2 separate regions of the Homo sapiens genome follow, and region 1 is linked to region 2. Evidence: promoter capture Hi-C in 16 types of primary human blood cells and fetal thymus (Javierre and others, 2016). All regions are on one chromosome and are shown on one strand. The core of a region is centred on a gene start or on the middle of the fragment in contact, and the rest is flanking DNA. Distances in the headings are between cores, read along the strand shown.

Region 1 (6,458 bases), core at 3,472-5,971, 560 kb after region 2:
TGAGTGTATCTTATACTTTGCTTTCAATTAACTGACATAAAAATTAGCCATGTGTCCATGTATTGTACTAACCAAGAGTTAAACAAGATACATTGAACTGGAATTTCTATTTAACTACTAAAGGTCCCTTTTAACTAATCTGTGACCCATATTTGAAAGCTTTCTTCTACCAGATTTTACTTATTGAAAGCAATTTGTCCCTCCTCTCATCTCTTTTTAACCAAACTATATAAATAGTACCTGTTTGAGCTTCTTGTTAGGAGTAAAGAAATAGTGCATTAGTGAACATAGTGTCATTATTGACTATTAGGACATTTGTTAGTTTTTGTTTCTCTTTTTGGGGGAACATTTGTTATTTTAAATAAAAGAAGAAACTCATTTAGAAAAGTCTGCATTAGGTGAAACCCCATCTTTACTAAAAATACAAAAATTAGCTGGGCATGGTGGCGGGCACCTGTAATCCCAGCTACTTGGAAGGCTGCATCAGGAGAATTGCTTGAACCCAGGAAATGGAGGTTGCAGTGAGCCAAGATCGCACCATTGCACTCCAGCCTGGGCGACAAGAGCTACACTCTGTCCCGGGGAGGGAAAAAAGCCCAGAAAAGTCTGCGTTAGAATCTCAGGTTCAGATGCTTTTTCTCGTTATAAACAAGACTGGCTGGAGTCTCAGGGGTCCTCCTGATTCCCCCATGTGCCTTGTCCATTGTAGTCCTAATTCCCTCCCAAATATTCAGCAATTTTTATATATATAGGAGCCCAGGGCTGAAGTATTTACAAAAAAAGATAACAAGAGCAAAGCTAGGAGAAAAAGTACAGCCAAAAGAGCTATTTTCAGTTTCAGTTCTAGGTCACTGAATTTCATTCATTTTTTAGTTGCCCCTCCCTACATAGAGGAATGAGAGGAGCACTTTGACAATAGATTATTTGCATAATCATGGCTTTGTTAGATCTGAATGTTTTCTTGCAACATGGGAATAGGGAACTAAATGCTTGGTGAGGCTTTCCTGAAACAAAAGACTTAGCTATAAACAGGTAGTGAGGTAGATCTTGCCGAATGGCCTTGTTTGTGAGGTGGTTCTTTGCTTTGTCTGAAGTTGGTGGGCAGCCATGAAGAAACAGGAGGGGGTAAAGTCAGAGGAATGTGAAATTGGAATCAACCCTTGTAGCAAGATGTCTGAAACAAGTTATGGCCAAAAGTAACCTTTCCAACTGGTGTCTCTACAAATACCCAAAGAATGTGTAGAACTGCGAATGAGGTCTCCTGAAACCATAAACATAGCCAAGTACCCCTCATTTGTATGGAGTTTCACTTTCCAATGTACTTTCACATCACTTTGATCCCTAAATTATCCTCTAAGTAGAGATAGAGCAAATATTCTCATCTTCTATTTTTCTAAGTGAGGAAATTGGGGCACAGAGTAGGTGAAGCAGTTTGTACTAATTCTGCAATTTGTGTAGATTTTGTCAATAAACAGATTTATTTCCAGTGCTTCCAACTTCTAGTCTAGTATGTTTTCCACTTTTTGCATTGTTTTTGACACAGTCACCGGTATCTCTGAGTGGTTATATCATGTGCCCATTGCTCTGGAATTAATAACATAAGTTGGTGGCTTAAGAAATACATAGGTACTTTAAAAAGTGAGTAATGCTTCCTAGGAGGAATACTCTTGAAGGAATATTCACCAACATTGCTTTGGATTTAAAAACAAAAACAAAAGTTGGACCCAAAGGATGTGAAACCTGCTGATAATGGATCCACGCGTCATAATATGTTTAAAGAGGAAATACTGATGATAATTAAGTTCTATTTTGGGAAAAAACAAGAACACATATCTTATAGAATCGTTAAAAGTCAGCATCAAAGATATCGCAGTGTGGCAGTATTGCAGACAGAATCACCAATGCAGTATTTACTAAAACTTAGAGGAAAAAAACATGATCTGAGTCTGACCAATGCTACCAAAAATACTTAATGACAAGAAGATAGTGAAGAACACAGTTTATTGACTCATTTCAGTTGTTCAGAGGTCGTACAACTTTTAGGAAAACGACATTGTAGCAATGGATTATTAGTGCTAATTTTGAAGAAAAAAATGAAATTATAGACATACTAAAAATTTATATGCCATGGTTGAAAAGATGTATCAAACTATAAAGCAGCAGCATCGAAGATTTAAAATTTAGAATAAAAATTGATCATGTGGCATCCCAAGATATACCCCAGGTATAACTTTTTGTTATATCAAGCATCAGTCTGTTAAGATTATTAACCAGTGGAAGGTCTAACACTGTTATAAAAAATTGTATTTATTCTAAACAACTGGAATCCAGTTACCTGTTTTATTCAATGAATGCATACATATATGTCTTCTCTTAAAGATATGTATGCATCTTTGGTATGATTTCACTTTTAGCTCTTTAAGTTAACCAACCATTAATTCCAGTTGTACTAGATAAGAGTCATCAGCTGTAGAAGTGACAGTCCAGTCTTTCTTTGCATCTCTCATCGGGCATAAAAGTAAACCCTGTTCATACCCCACATGAAACTTTCTTATAACCCCCTTCTTCCTTTTTTCTCATTCTTCTAGATTTCTGCTCTCTATCCTTAATAGCACTTATCTTGCCTCTCCCACCCCTTTGTCTTTTGCCCCAGAGCATCATTCTGAGTTTGGCCACAGCTCGTTACAGGGGTCTGCCTACTCTGGCCTGGGGAAGAAATGGGAAAGAAGTCTGAGGACCTTATGGCCATTGCAGTCTTTTCCTTGGCAGTCCGAGGGAAGCGGGAGGTGATGCATGTTTTTACAGCAAGCATCCTTGTCCCTTTACATTCTGTGGAGCTCAGGCCTCATGCCTGGTCCTTGCCAGCATCATCCATACATCTCTGCCTCCAAATCCTGAGATCATTGAGCTGCATTCTCTTGCCACCTCAGCACCAAGCTCAGAGATTCCAAAATCATATTGCTAGAAAGAAGTTAAGCCAGTTTCATCCCTCAGCTCTGCTTAAATTTGTTTTTAAACCAAGCCAAAAGGAGACATCCATATTATTTTCTAAAAGATAAAATATCAGAAGCTATTCTATGTGTGCCTTTCAGCTGATGTGTGAAGTGTAACCATAAGAAATATCTCTTGCCAGGACATTATTGAGGAAGTCACAGTAGGTTACATTCGTGAGAATATATGGTCTGCTTCAGAAGAGTTGCTTCTTCGCTTTCAAGCCACAAGCTCAGGACCCATCCTTAGGGAAGAGTTTGAAGCTAGAAAATCATTTTTGCATGAACAAGAAGAGAATGTGGTCAAAATACAGGTATGTGGATCACCTGCCACTGTTTACACAAAACTGTCATATCACCTGAAAATGTTTTATTTGATAATAGAATAGTCAACTACCAGCATTCCTATAAACAAATCTGACTGCATATTTTTACATAATCAGTGCCCCTAGTCTACTTCACTAAGGCTTTAAAATAGGAAGCATTTTGATGATGAATGACTTAACCTATGGTCTTCTAGAGAGCATTTAGGAGCACCGCAGATTTGCACAGATCCACCTGCTGCCAACCTAGTTGGACCCAAAGGGATATACCTTGGATCAGAGTTGAAATCATACCTGACTTGGGGACTTTACAATTTGGCTTTTTTGTGGTTAGTAGATGTTGAGTGGCGTCTTAGTTTCTGTGCTGTTCTAGCCTGAAAGAACAGGAGAACTAATGAAATAAACAGATTTAGCCTCTCTAAGAATGTCTTCTACCTTCTGTAATCTGTCACTCTTCATTTAGGCCTTCAGGAGAAACCTTCATTCCCAATTTTTTTGCTATAAATTGTTCTTAAGTTTGCATGACTTGTCTAAACTTTCTGATTGGCAGGAGAATTTGCCAGGTTTAGATGTTTCTCTTCTGTATTCCTATAGCGCCCCCTACCAGTCACCACACTGGTTTGTGAAAGGCTGTGAGTTTGTTCTTTTTATTGTGAGTTCAAAGGGGTATTATTAACAACTGGTAAAGTCTGATGCTGATGGGTTTTTACTTTGAAGTTTCCTAAATTGAACATTTTTCTGTTGAAGACCTTCTTTTTTGTGTGGTCACTGGTGAACTCATCTGCTTTTCCCACCTAACTGTAATGTCCAAGGCAGAAAATGAATTTTACAAACATTTGTCTTCTTGTATCTTGCACATGATAGGTGCTTACATATTTAAATTTGCTTGGAGCTTAAGATATTATTAGCAAAGCAGAAATAATTAATTTTATAAAAGAAATTTCTACTATAAATCTGACACTCAAAGGATTTTTCTAGGTGGGCCAATGAGTTTACAATGTATTCCTTTAAACAAATAGTAGGCAAAACACACAGGAAGTGAACAAAAGCCTAAAAATAGTCATCTACACTGATGAGACTCTAATTTTGCACAAATTTCACGTGTCAGCCAATATAAAATTGGGACCCCACACTCTCCAGTCTCAGGTCACACAGCAGTGTTGCAGTTGGAAGATATACCACAGAGCCCACCAGTACAGAATCCCTCTATATTAGAAACCAGGGCTGAAGGATGAGAGAAATGGGGTAAGGACAGGAACGATCATTTGGAGCCTTTTTCCTCCACCTCAGCAGAGGCAAAAGAATTGACGAAGCAGCCATCAAACCATGAAGTCACCTCACCACGCCTTTTTTTCAGTCTTCTGACAATTTTCCAAAACAGAGGGCATGAGGCCTAAAGGTAAGCCTACTTTACAGATGTGGACCAGAAGTGAATAATACAGTTAATAGGAACCTGCTGACCCATAAAACCAAGAGACTGTGAACCAAAAGGTGTCATGCTAATCTCATTTCTCACCAAAGTGGCTGGTTCACCTTCAAGTAGGAAAATGTTCTGATATCTGAGAAGGTCCCCTACGTAAAACACTGTGAGCTTCCTAGCTGGCTGAACTGCCCCCCAGACACAGTAGTCTTAACACATTTGGAGAGAAATACAAAGGCAAAACTCCTAGGCCGAGGCCAGCTATACTCCGGCTACACCACCCTCCCTGCCATCAGTGGTCTGCCAAGGAAATGAGTAGTGGTACAGAGAATGTGCAGCATGATCAACATCCAGCATTCTGTCTCAAGTGCTTATGGAGTTAACTGGGAGGTGCCCAGGTCAATATAGAGGAAGTCAAGGAGAATCTACATAGCCATATTATTTTTGAGCAGTTAGAAGTCCCCGATAAAATTGCCTGAGTGAGCCAGAAAAAAAAATCTGTTCATAAACAAAAAAGATTTTATATCAGAAATAGAAAAAGGAATGTAACTTGTAAAATATAAGTGGAGTAGATATCTAGAGTTACTCTTCCAGAAGACAGGAGAAAATTTTATACTGAAGCTGCTTTATACTGTCAAGGAATTTGATAAGACATGGACTTAATGAAATAAGAAGACAATAGAATAATAAAATGAAAAGACAGCTGACAGCTAAGGAGAGGAAGAGAAATAATGATGTTATAGAATGTAAATGAATTTATAACTGCAGAATGCAAATTAGACACTGAACATAATTGGAGCAGACACAAAAAACTTCAGAAAAATCCACAAAAGATGAGAGAAAGAATAGATGACTAAAAACACACTTTCTCATCTGAAAAATATAATGCCCATTTTATTGCAGGGTGGTGAAGACTGACTGGAATAATTCACATAACAGATGTTTCCTAGTATTTGCTTCTCAAGTGCTTGATAAACTTTAGAAATGGTAAGATGATAGAGATAATGACTCAGAAGGCAGATAATGGGGATCCAATATTGATATTGTTGGTGTGGCACAGGAAAACATCAGAAAAAAATGAAATAGGATTAGAGTAGGTAACTACAGGAGGAAGTTTTTTTCATGAACTGAAGAAAGCTAGTATACTACTTTTTAGGAAAGGACATAATAGTGGCAAACACCAAAACTTAGCCCTGAGAATTAATGAATTATTGAACTTCAGCTCAGGGAGTGCCACAAGCATCCTGGTGAAGAAAAACAAGCTACTCTGAAGGAACTTCACTTCGCCAGGAGCAGTGGCAGAGTCTGTGGGCCAAGAGGAAGGGGATGGCCTGGGAGAGTCGGTCCTCAGTTGTTTTAATGTAACCGACTGCTCTTATAGATGGCTGGATTTTTTTTACCTTTGAGGAGAGGGAGAAGAGGTAAATGTTTAGGGCTTTCTTGGCTAACCGAGATCACACAAGTATTCTGTGCATCAGAAGTTGGCATTGGTAATTTGAATATCTCTATACTGAGTGTCCAGTTATCAAGCATAGCAGCCAGTGTATCAAGCCAGATTTCCCAGAGAGTAATAGTTAAAGTCTATAAAATAGAGCAATGACCTCTGAGGTCTAAGCGTTTTGACAGACTTCTTTTATACAGATACTCTGCACAGAAAATATATTTATGGTACTAGAAAACAAAACAAATAAGATGGCTATTATAAATTTTCCCACAAGTTCCCAT
Region 2 (6,010 bases), core at 1,497-3,996:
AAAACAGACCTCTCATGCTCATTAGGTGTCTTTCACAGCTTGTTTTTTAGCATCACAAGACGACACCCTGCATTGAGGAACAAAAGTCCTGAGGTGTAGGAGAGCAATGACTTTAGAGTACTGGGATTCTGTGGGGATGGAGGGTATACCCCTTTTCACTCCATCCGCTTCTACAAGACAAGTGTTTTCAGAAGAGAGAAAACATTTCATTATAATGAAGGCATGAATAAAACTAGTCTGAGTGCTGGATCCAAGGGGCCTGGGGCCAAGGTGTGTGCCAGGCAGGACCCTAGAACCAGAACTGCTTTAGAGGGCAAGTCCAGGAACCAGGGCACAACATCATCATGACACAATGTTTCATGTCCTCCAAAGACACAACGTTAAAATAGCCTTTTCCAGTGCAACCTGGTCTTAAATGGGATGTTTCAGGCAAAATCACAATCAGGGATTTTCCTAAAGGAGCTGTTACCTTCAAATGCATCAAGACACGAAAATCCAGAAGTAGAAAAATCAACCCACTTTAAAAAAATATCTTCCACGGACAAGATAGGAGAATAATTTAAGGAAGATACAGCATAGCATAAAGAACGTTGATCACGTTTAAAGTTTGTTTCATGGTTTTCTGAACTTCCATCACTTGGAGAAACAATCCATTATTCTGCAACAGTTTAGGGGAGGTTCTCAAAAAGGTAACCGTTTGAGAACTCAGTGAATTGCCAGCACATTTTGCAGTTGGAAGCTCAAATTTTTATAAATAACATGCGGGGAATCCAGATAGGATTTATTTTTTAATTTCACAATTGTATTTCCAATGCTGGATTCATAGGCACTTCCTTGTCATAGTAGCAGCACATTAATTTTAGCCTAAATAATTATTTAAATTATTTAACTATTTAAATTATTTAACTATTTAAATAATTATTTTACTAAGAAGAATCCACGAAATGAAAATGAGCACGTTCACTAATTTTCATATTGCCTGACCATCTCATAGCACCATGGTCACAGACTGCAAAGCCTCTCACCGGAACAAGACAGACCAGCAAGGAAGTGTAGGTTCAACAGCACATGAGAATCATAACTTTTAGTGCCAGAGTGTCTGAACCAGAGAGGAGGGAAAATGAGAGGCCAAGAGTTGTCTCCATTTTCTTCTCTTCACAGTATCCTGCATAGTGGCACAAATCGAACTGGAAAGCCCAAGCTAACAACACCGCCCTGGGCGAACCGCCTGTCTCCACCGGCTCCTCTGGGCAGGAGGCTCCAGCCTGGGGGTGCCTGACAGCTCTCCTTCCCCGGCGCCTGTATTATACATGTAACATTTATATTTCTATCCACACAGCGTTCATTCAGCCATCCATTCAATCACCCAGGCATATTTACACGGATGGAACACATTCGCGGAGAGATGTGTGTGTTTGAGTTCCAATCACTGCAGCCCGTATTGGCGCGGCGCTTTGTCTCGCTTTGGGTCACCACCACAGGAGCAACGATTTCGGGGACGGCACACGCCTGTGTGACCGCTTCCCACTCCACTTGGGTTCCGTGAGCGCGCGGAGCCGGAGGAGTCAGGGACGTGAGGATGCCCTACTTCCCGCAGCATCCGGATGGCAGGGTCTGCGTCGGAAGGCCCGGGAGGGCGACGCCCTCCACTGCTGCCGCGGGGTGGGTGCGCCAGGCCTGGGTGTGGCCTCACGGGAGCGAGTTTCTCTCCAGCCGCCTGGCCCACCGCTTTGGAACAGTGAAGCTCGAGTTGGGGTCTCCTGCACGCCAAGGGGAGAAATGTTTGTTTCTGACAACACAAGCAAAATTCTCTCTCCTGCACGCCAAGGGGAGAAATGTTTGTTTCTAACAACACAAGCAAAATTCTCTCTCTCTCTCCCTCTCTCTCTCTCTTCTCTCCTCTCTCTTTCTCCCTCCTCCTCCTTTCTTTCTTTCTCTTTTTCTTTCTTTCTTTCTTTCTTCCTCCTCCTCCTCTCTCTCTCTCTATCTCTCTCTCCACCCCCCCCCCCTCATATTTGGTTGTTTCCCCTCTAAGGGGCCACTTTCAATATCTGCCTGTGAGCCCAGCTGTCTGGCCCTATGTAGCATTGGGGAGACAGTAGACTTAACCCAGCGAAGTTTTCTTCTGTTTGCTCTTGCTGTGCCCAAGTTTCCTCTGGACTTGTCTTCCAGCGTCGGGGTGGGGGCTGGGGGAAGTAGGCAACCTAGCTCTGCCTGGTTGCTCCCTGGAAGCCAAGTCGAAGTGAACAAGTCAGTCCCAGGCCCGGAAATAGAATACAAACCCTCTTTTTGTCCGGTGCTAACAGAGTCCAGCAGTCAGAACTCCCTCGCGTCTCACGCTGGACCTGACCCGGGGCGCCGCCAAGTGCGCAACGCACAGTCACAGTTGGTGACTAATTAAGGACTGCCGCCCCTCTCCTTCACCTGCTACAAACTCAGAGCCCTGACTTCTCCAGAAGTACCTACCACTTGGAGGTGGCTCTCCTTCCCCGCCCCCTGCCCCAGTCCCACACCGCAGCAGCGCCTCAGCACCGCGACTTGCCGGAGCACCGCGAGTGGCGCGCGGGTCCCGCCTCCCCCGCGCGCCGTGACTCCCTGCGCACCGCTGGTACTCTCGCCACGCCGCCGCCCGGCACTGCAGCACCAGGGGGAGGAGGCAGGCGGAGGAGAGGAGGAGGACCGCAGCGTGCAAGCCGGGAGCCACTTTCCCGCCCCTCCTCTCGCCGCTGACACGCTCAGAGGAGTCACCACTCCGCGCGCTGCAGGCGAGAGTGGCAGACGGAGGCAGCCCGGGGAAGCGAGCCGGAGCGGCGCCCGCACTGAGGCGGCTGCAGTGCTGACACCACTCAGGGCAAGGGTGTCCGACGGCTGGAGCGGTGAGTGGGGGAGGTGAAGCGGGCATCCGCGGGGAGACTTTCCCCCGCTGCTGGATTTCTCTTCCCGACTGGTGGCCGGGCGCTGCAGCCTGGGGAAGTTTTTGCAGCCTTTCGGAAGCGCAACTTTGCCCCGCCTGCCCCCGGGGAAGCGGCTGCAGGTGCCCGCTGCTTTGTAGGCGCCTTTGTTGGAGAGGGACCAGGAAAGTAGGGGTAAAATAGATGCAGTGACCCCAGGGTTCGCTAGGGTAGGTCTGGGGACTGGGTCGCACTTTATCTGGGATTCCCAGAGGAGGTGGGTGGGCAGCAGCGGGGATGCAGGGGCCGCATCTGCAGCGACCGCCACGCTCTTTTTTGCTTGTGTGGTTTGACCGGCAGGGATAGGCAGATTCAAATCTAGCAGCCTAGAGCCCCGGGCTGGGTACCTGGACCTATACCTTCATAGCTGCCTTAGGCTCAACTTTTCGGCGGGGATCCCTCTGCAGACGTGCAGGTGGCGGGAGAGCAGAGGTAGCCGCAGTAAGTGCTGAGAGAGCCTGAAAGAAACACCATGAATTTTCAAACTCTCCCACATACATTCCCGAAGCGCCTGTCTGGCGTCTAAGAGAGAGCAAGAGAGGGCTGGAGAGCAGGGGAGCCCGCGGGGCTGAGGCTCTTTGTCAGCGCCTGCACTTCCTACGTTACAACGCCTTCATTCAGCAAAAACCTTTTGGGCGCCTGCTGTGCGCCAGGCCAGGCGAAGCAGACCCGAGGCTGTGAAGCTCAGAGGGGAGAGGGACCAATCGCAGTAAATAAGCTACCGAGGTAATCTTAGATGGCGATGAGGGCAGCAAAAGCCATCAGCCGACCCTCTGACCCTTTCTCTTAGTGGGCTTTTCCCCTTCCGCCTGGGTTCTAGAACTGGGAAGACTTTTCTCCAGAGCGTCGCGGGGAGCGCCCCGGGCTGGGCCCACGGGGACTGCGGAATACGGGGATGAACTTGGCTTGGGGCAGCCAGCACCCCACGGCAGATGAACAATCGGGAGCAGATCTGTGGGCGTGCGGGGACCTTAGGCGGCGCGCGGGGGCGGGGGGAGGGGCTGAGCCACGGGGGCTAGAGGTGCCGCCTGGACGGCCTGAGCTGGGGGCGCTCGCGTCACCTTCTACGTGTGCGAGTGATGCAAATGCAGACCCGCGAGGGGCGGGCGGGGGTGGCGGGCGGGGGCAGGCGACGGAGTCTCCGTCTGGGAGCGCGCGTGTGTGCGTCAAAAGCTCTGGGTTGATGGATGCCCCGCGGCGCGCCTGGCGCGGAGAGCGGCGACCCGGCGGGGCAGAGGGGGGCGGGAGGACTGCGGCGGCGCGGGGCGGCGAGGAAAGCCCCGCACGGCCTGGGCTGGCGGGCAGGCGGCTCCGCAGTGCGCCGCAGTGCCGGGAAGGAGCCGCAGCTACCGGGCGCTCCCCGGGGGACCGAGGAGATGAGGCGTCTTTTAAGGCTCATGAGAGCCTTAAGGAGATGAGACCGGGATGCCGTGATGGTCTCCTCTCCCGCTGAACCTAATCCCTTCATACTTAGCTGACTGCTAGCGCGGTAGCTTCCGTTTAATTCTTATCCTTAATTCTGAAGAATGTGGCATTAATCTCTCAGGCGTTCACTCATTTTCCATGGCAAGTTCCGAAAGGCCTCGTGCTCGTGGGAAGTTTTCATGTGAACGCCTAGGTGTTGAGGTTCGTGAGGTTCTGTAGTGCCAACCCGTTGCGCCACCATTCTGCAGGATTTTTGGCAGGAGGCCTGGCCTCTAAGTGAGGTTTAAGAATGTCTTACAAAACAATATGCCGCATTCCTCTTTCATGGCATAAAAATACGCGTTAAAAAACACTACTGATAACGCATTCTCTGGTGGAAAATAATAAATCAAATCCACGATCCATTTTATTCTTTTTTTTAAAGACCACTTTCTGGAAACCCAGTGACAAAGTTTTTCTACTGGCTTTACTGAAGGAGCCCAAATCTGCAGTATGTAGGCAAAATGAATGAAAGGGGACGGGGTTGGGAAAAAAGAAAGAAAGGAAGGGAGGGAGGAAGAAAAGCAATTATCAAGGAACCCAGAGACACAGATGCTAGTCACCATTTCCCCAAATATTGTGTTATGTCACCTTGGGCAGGTTACTCACCCTCTTGGGTTCATCTTCCACCTCTGAGAATTGTGAAAAATAGCTTATACTAGCTCTTATGTACCTTACAGGGTTGTTTTGAAGACAAAAGAGATAATCTCAGAGAGCTTTGGCTTTGGAAATACAAATTTTCCATGAATGGAAAATATTAGCAAACAAAGCCCCTACACACACACACACACACACACACACACACACAGAATTTTCTTTTAAAAAATTCTAGAGACTTTTCCCAGCATTGTTTTTTTAATGAAATTTGGCCCTCAATGTGAGCAAATGCAGACAGCAGACTTTTCCTAACAGTCTAATATGTAATCCAATGCCATTAGCTACTGACTGTCTGGAGAAGGAAAAAAAGAAGCTCTGGATCACATCTGAGTGTTTTGTTCATGTAGTGGAGAAATCAGCTTTATTTTTCATGACCCAATGACAGTGAAAGTAGCTTCTCTGATCTGAGCAGCAGACTGGCCTAACAGCTTGTAGTAAAACTCCTATTCATTATTAACCCTATCATATTCCTTAAGTGTGGAAATGCTTCAAATAATAGGATCCAGTTCCCAGTCTCCAGGAGATTACGGCAAAGGCATCATAATGTGCAATATATCACGTGACGACAAGTACCAGAAAACCCATTTCCTATAATTAGGAGTGTTATCTCTTATTCTTAAGCAAACTTGATGACATATTGTATGAATAAAAGCATGTGATTTGTCAAAATGGCTCCTTAACCAGCCCACTGTTGTTATTCATATTACTCCAGATGACGGTAGATTTCTGTGAGTAGTGAAAGCAAAATGCCTCTTTTTCTGTGCAGCTATATCAAGGGAAAACCTTCAATACACCAGCGTATTTCTTGGTTCCATGTTGGTGAGGTTCCTGTTTGACTGTGGTTCACAGCATACATAGTATTCTCCATTTAAACACAAACTCATCATTTCAATGAAGTCTGTTTGTAAACCCAGGAAAGGCAGCCCCTGGCATATATA

The links. Contacts are between HindIII fragments. The CHiCAGO score rates a contact against its expected background, and 5 or more counts as called.
Region 1: a fragment that was not itself captured here is called in contact with the fragment with the promoter of SV2C in region 2 in 1 of 17 cell types (naive CD8 T cells); the score reaches 5.1 in naive CD8 T cells.

The regions. Positions count from the first base shown.
Region 1 is chr5:76,637,800-76,644,257 of GRCh38, forward strand. IQGAP2 (IQ motif containing GTPase activating protein 2) reads left to right here. Exons shown (of 36, transcript NM_006633.5): 17 at 3,134-3,304. Among named protein-coding and RNA genes, the nearest start is that of F2RL2, 18 kb to the left of the region's middle. The HindIII fragment of the contact is 9,128 bases long and covers 158-6,458 here.
Region 2 is chr5:76,080,637-76,086,646 of GRCh38, forward strand. It overlaps SV2C (synaptic vesicle glycoprotein 2C), which reads left to right and starts at 2,747. Exons shown (of 13, transcript NM_014979.4): 1 at 2,747-2,876. It overlaps SV2C-AS1 (SV2C antisense RNA 1), which reads right to left and starts at 2,781. Exons shown (of 2, transcript NR_183290.1): 1 at 2,283-2,781; 2 at 770-1,760. RefSeq lists an enhancer at 1,558-2,111. The HindIII fragment of the contact is 14,928 bases long and covers 1-6,010 here.